2 separate regions of the Homo sapiens genome follow, and region 2 is linked to region 1. Evidence: promoter capture Hi-C in 16 types of primary human blood cells and fetal thymus (Javierre and others, 2016). All regions are on one chromosome and are shown on one strand. The core of a region is centred on a gene start or on the middle of the fragment in contact, and the rest is flanking DNA. Distances in the headings are between cores, read along the strand shown.

Region 1 (3,066 bases), core at 55-2,554:
TCACCAACACTACTACTGCTGTGCTCACAAATATGAAGACCACGGCAGAGGAGGAGTCGAAAGCCTGAGGAGTGGCAGAGGAAGTCGTAGAATTAAACTTGGAAATCACGCTCCCTGATGGGGTGATAGTGGCCTTTGACTCGGCTTGAAGGGACATTTGAAGGGTAGACATCGTGCTCTGTGATCCCCATCGAGGAATCTCAGGAATAGATGTTACTGAATTGTCTTGTTCAGGGACAAGTGGTGTCTCTCCCAGCTTCTCGTCGACCCTGATTGGCCATGTTCTCTGCGGCACGGGGCTGGTTGCAGTGGCCGGCGGGCGCCTGGTGGGCACCCCGGTCCCCCCAAGGGTCGGCTGTCCTTCCCCACTGGTCACACAAGAGCGGCCGTCCTTCCCCAGCTCGAAGCCCGTAGCACATTCGCAGGCAAAGCCTCCCAAGTCGTCTAGGCAGTTAGGGAGCTCTGCGCATTTGCCAGCACGGAGGTACCTCCCGGGGCAGGGACACAACACATCGCCCGAGAGTTTGTCCCAGCGAGCGCCGATTTCGTCCGCGATGCAAGTAACTGAGATCGGGAGCTGTCCCCGGCAGAGCGCACTCACCTCGGTCCCAGGTGGACTGAAGTCCAGAGCGGCGCTGTGCAGCTGGAAGGGCGCGCGATAGCTCAAGTTAGAGGCGGCCCCGGGGCGCGGCGCAGGACACAAGACCTCAAACTGGTACTTGCACAGGTAGCCGTTGGCGCGCAGGTGGCATCGCATCTCCTTCCAGCCTGCGGGCTCGACCCCACCGGTGGCCTGGAGTACCGCGCATCTCCGCGCGGTGCAGGAGCGTTGGGGCTCCTCCACCCACTGCAGCGTGTCGCTTTCGAGACCGCCGGGGTCGGAGGACAGCCAGGAGAAACCCCGCAAAGGCTCGTTCTCCAGGGTGCAGTGGGAACGCCTGCGCTCCAGTGCGACCCAGAACAGCAGGTCTTTGGAGCCCCCTCCGGGCCCTGGGCCTGCCCGCAGGAGCGCGAGCACAGCGCGCAGCTCGGCGCCCGCACGCACGGTGCTGAGCGCCCCACCTCGCAGGATGCAGGCCTCCTCGGCCGCCTGCCGCTTCATGGTAGCGTGGTGCAGGCTGTAGCAGGCCCCCGAGGCCGAGCAGCCAGCACGGTCGGCAGTGGGGTGTTCGCCGCCGCCCGGCCCGGGCCAGAGCGCCTGCCAGAGGAGGCACAGGGCGAACGCCGGCCTCATTCTCTGAGGCCCCGCACGCAGAGCTGCTCCCAACTTGGATCTGTCCCGCTCGAGGACGCAGAGCTGTGTCTGGAGCGCGGTCACCGCCCTCTACAGCTGGCTTCCCCAACCCGGTTCCCCCTCCCTTCCCCTCCGCCCTCGCTCCCGACGGACCCCCCAACTGCCAAGAATCCCCCCGCGGGCCCAGCGGCCAACAGTTTCCCTTAGGCCGCGACAGGAAATGTGTGCGGAGCGCTGCCAGGCCCGGTGCAGCCCTGAGTTATTCTGGGGTCAGGAACACAGCTGGCGCCGGGTACAGGGGACGCAGTCGACTAGAAGGTCAAACACCCTGCTTAGAGCAAGAGGAGAAATTCGCCACTGGGATGAAGTGTGTGGTTTTTCTCCGTTCAGGGAGTTTCATCAGGACCGCAGAACCCATAACACGTAAGCGAACATAGGCAGGAAGGACTTGAGAAAGGAACTGGCTTATGATTATAAGACCACGCCCGTCTATTGTGTTTCTGTCCGGAGCTGTGGAGTTAGCGTCAGAATAATTCGTAGACGGCTCCAGTGTTTGGGGGGCCTGTGCCTGTGGGGGAAAAATATGTTGTGAAACAACTTAGCAACTGCTTTTGCCACCAGAGGCAGCACTATTTAACCGCATATCTCTCTATGGGTCTTTGCTTCTCTATTATGTCAAGAGATTTCAGGAGTCCTAACTACTAAAGAATTTGGAGTTGTTTGGGTATTTTAAATGGGAAATTCTGCTTCTTCCATCAGCACTTGCTTTAGAAATTTATTTTTCACTTCCACGTGTTTCTCTTTGAGTTAGACCATATTGATTCATTACAGAAAGGAAATGTATTTCTAGGACTAAATGAAAAATAATGACCATAGATCTTAACAGTTAGGTTGTTAGCTTTCCTTGCCACTGTATTGGTTCAAAAATTCTTCAAGTTTATAGGTTATACATAAATGAGTTCGTGGCCTTATAAATATTCGAGAACAACTGCCCTATGTGTGATTTTAGCCTTGAACTATTTTAGTATCATTTTCTCCTATGATTGAGTGGCAGCATTTATAATAGTAAGTTGTAAACATCTCCTTTAAGGAAAATTAGAGTTCCTTAAGAAATTAAAATGTTTATTCCATTATAATGAATATTGTATACTGTCAAAAAATATCTTGTAATTTGAAAGATGGGTGAGCCAATTTCTTTAGAATTCCAGTGGGTGTTTTGTTTTAATATAAACATTTCAACTCAGTGGGAAGTGGCAAGGAATTAAAGATGAATAAAGAAGTAAAGGTTAAAAACTGTACTGTTATGAAAGGATTTCTTGTTAGCAACTTAGACAATTCAGTATCAGTTTAGAAAACGTACATTCTATCTTGGTTCATAATGGCCAAATACGTTGCCATCAGAAATACATAGAGAGTTTCAGCTAAGCCCTCTTAGAGATGTCTGATGCTTTTAAATATCTTTAATCAGAATGAAAGTTGCCATTCCATGGATAATGCATATAAGCTCACTTTGTTTTACTGCATTCAGGTTGATGAGGGGTGGGAGGGAAGGTTTCAGGATCACATCTGTATGCTTCCATCTTATTTTTACCATAACTCTCATTCTTCTTTCCTCCTGGAAATTCCATGTATCTTAACAAACAACAGTAAGCCTATGAGTCATCATCATACTTACCTTGCTTTTGCTGAGTATGGAGCTTTGCACTAGGATTTCTCTCCTGCCCTATTTCCCAATTTAAAGAACATTCCTTAGTCCTTCCTTCAGATGTCTGAGAATCACCTTAAACGTGGCTTTGCGTTTAAATTAGGTAACTTAGTGTCTTATAAGAAAG
Region 2 (3,165 bases), core at 114-2,613, 110 kb after region 1:
AAAGCCATGTGTTGATAATAATAACAATCATAATATTAATGAATAATAACAATAACAGACATTCATAGGGGACTTATTTTGTTCCAAAACAGTGTCCTAAGTGCTTTCCACATTATTTTAACTTATATCATCATCATAAAACATCTTACTGGTTGAGACTGTTATTATCATCATTCTACAGACAACCTTTTGAAGAGGAGCAGAGATTGCCTTACCACTGACTAAGGAGTGTCTTCCTCCTACTTAGGGTTCGGTAATGACGTGAAAAGCATTTTTAAAAAGACAGTAAATGGAGCATATTTGGGGTATGCATTTTACTATTGCTGGTGCCGATATGTGCTACAGCAAAACCTCTGCCAAGAGAGGATAAAAGGAGTCAGCTCATAGTGGGTGGATACTAGAACTAGACAGAGGTTCAGATTGACATTGTTTAGGGGGATGGGGAGATCTAACAGGAAAAGGAGATGACTCAGAAAGAACTTCCCCAACAGTTTAGGATGCCCCCTAATGATGGGAACATTCTAAGATATCCGCTAGAGAAAAAGTCCAGGAAGGTATGGCATAGATTTCTCATTGCTGCTTCAACATTCATTTACCCTTTCTTTATTAGTAAGAGAGCTCCAATTTTATTTAGGGTGGCAATGTGCCTAGCTAAAATAATGCATTTCCCAGCTTATCTTGAGATTAAAGTGGCCACTTCACTGAGCTATGACCAGTGAGAAGTAAACAAAAGCTATTAGAATGAGAAGACAGACAGCTGGCATGTGTCACTTTGCCCCTTCCTTTTCCACACCCTACCTCCTAGAATGCAGATATGATAGATGAGGCTCCAAACACCATTTTGGACTATTGTGGTGATCCTGCAGATGGAAGCCAAATAATAAGAATGGAAGAGCAGATGGAAGTCAAATAAGAATGGAAGAGCAGAAATAGAGATGGAGGATGAGTCCCTGATGATCATGGGGTCACCATATCTTCCCCAGACTGCACATCTCCAAACTTATTTTATGTGGAATAAAATATATCTTCATAAGTTTAAGCCATTGATATATCTGACATGTTGTTATATGCAGCTGAACATGATTCTTAGCGGATCCACAAAGTTAGCTGAAGGTTTTATGGGCAGCAGAACCTTCCCTTTACAAGGAAAGAAAACTCAAAAGACCCCTCTACCAACAGACAGCAAAGGTCCTGTGGAGAGAGGCCAAATGAAGAGATCCAAGCTAGGAATTTCCCAAGCCCTTGAACAAGACAATCAACCTCCTTGCTTCTCAGTCCTCCCACTGACAAAATAAGAAAGCTAAATGTGATTATTAAGTCTCCACTCCAGGTAGAAAATTCTGCAATTTTACAATTATGAGCGAATAAGACACACCAGTGTTGCTAAAAACCTGCTGAAAGGCTATTAGAGTAAAGGTGCTATTTTCTCCTGTAGGGAGAGGTAACTTAATCAGATTTGACTGAAACCCAGTCCGAGGCTGTCTGGCCACTTGGCACAGGGTTGCTACTACTTTCGGATCAGCTTGTGATTGCCATAATCAGGGACTATTTGATTGGACAAACAAGTTCATTTCAACAGACTTAAGCATTCCTTATCCTAGTAACACAGGGATATCTTACTGAAGCAGAGAACACCAGGGCAGGAAGTCCAAACAGGAAAACTGAGAACTGGAAAACCAAAAAGTCTCTCTCCCTGTCTGTGGTCAAAGTGGTACAATCACCTTGGCCTCCTCCTCCTATTTCTCACTACTGTTAAGCTCCTTTGCTGCAGGTCTTATATGGTAGAAATATGAAAATGGCTTTCCCAGCTCTACATAATCTCTCTTTCAAGCTAGTACATGTGTTTCACTGGTTTACACTCCACGTCACTCAAATTTCTCATGGAATCTGATTGGTTCAGCTTTAATTAGCAATGACCCTGGGACAGTGTAAAGCCACAGGGTACAGGCAGGATAGGCAGGGCTTTGGGGCTGGCTCTCTAGGGAGGAGTATGACTGGGAAGGGAGAATTTGTATCTTCAGAGTAACAGTAAGGAAGTTTTTTCAGCGTTCCTCTTTAGGACAGGATGCATGTCTTTCCAATCTAAGAGCTCCATCCACAGGACTCTGCTGAGGTGGGGCAGGATGAGCGTAGATGGATTATACCAAGATATATCAAGTCGTGCCTCCTAACCTGCCTGGAGTGATACAAATGTATCACTGTTTTGAGTTTATAACATTTACTACAGAAGAGTTCTATGACACCTGTGTACGGGCATTTGGAATGATTACAGGCACTTGGAATGATTACAAATTGAAATAAAATTATTATGAAATTTTTGTTGAGACTCTAATAACATAGCATTCCTTCAGATAATTAAAGTGTTGGAAACAGGATAGAAAAACTGCTAATTTAGCCTTCCTTTTATCTGTTTCACTAGCTCTTGTTATAACCTTCTCTACTTTATGCAGAACTTGTCTGTGTAATTCAGAACTTGTTAATTACCACCTTGACCAGTTCTGAACTCTGTTATTTGTGGATCATCTTGATAATTAACTGGATGTTTCTATATTTTAATTGGATAGAATTCATCACTTTATACTATATTTACAATTGTTATGGTATGAAAGCCACCTCACTAATAGATGTTTTGCTTTTTTAAAACTATAATAATATATGGAAACTTTTAGTATTTTTATTTATTTTAGAATTTGGCTCAAAATAATAGTTTCCATGACATCTTCTATCCCACATTAATAATTATTTTACCCTCAAGAGCATAAGAGATTTAGTTTGTTGTCAAAATTTTGTTTTCTCAAAATTCAATTTCTCTTAGTCTTTAGTCTCTTAAGCATAAAAAGATGAAATATAATACATAGAGGTCACACTAAAAAATAAAATCCAGATTTAAGCTTCTTATGGTGGCTTAGACAGGTCACTTAATCCTCTGAACTTCAATTTTCATTATGTAAGGTGGTCAAAATAATATCTGAATCTACTCCATGTAATTTTTAAGTTTACTAAATGAAATATGGTTATGAAAGTAATTTTAAAAATGTAAGAATGTGCAACATTATTAGATACTATCAACAGGAAGCTTACCTATTCTTCTATGTCTTATAAGATGATAAATTGCTGTTGTCAGAATAAAAGTAGATGAAGCATAAATGAATCAGGTAACCTAGG

What was found. The method cuts DNA at HindIII sites, captures the fragments that hold promoters and counts their contacts. A CHiCAGO score of 5 or more calls a contact.
Region 2: a fragment that was not itself captured here is called in contact with the fragment with the promoter of CLEC14A in region 1 in 1 of 17 cell types (endothelial precursors); the score reaches 5.7 in endothelial precursors.

Annotation. Positions count from the first base shown.
Region 1 is chr14:38,254,789-38,257,854 of GRCh38, forward strand. CLEC14A (C-type lectin domain containing 14A) reads right to left here and starts at 1,305. Exons shown (of 1, transcript NM_175060.3): 1 at 1-1,305. The coding sequence starts at 1,234. It overlaps LOC112268136 (a long non-coding RNA gene), which reads left to right and starts at 1,257. Exons shown (of 5, transcript NR_169588.1): 1 at 1,257-1,657. RefSeq lists an enhancer at 487-1,114. The HindIII fragment of the contact is 4,914 bases long and covers 1-3,066 here.
Region 2 is chr14:38,366,118-38,369,282 of GRCh38, forward strand. No RefSeq gene overlaps it. Among named protein-coding and RNA genes, the nearest start is that of CLEC14A, 110 kb to the left of the region's middle. The HindIII fragment of the contact is 3,051 bases long and covers 1-2,889 here.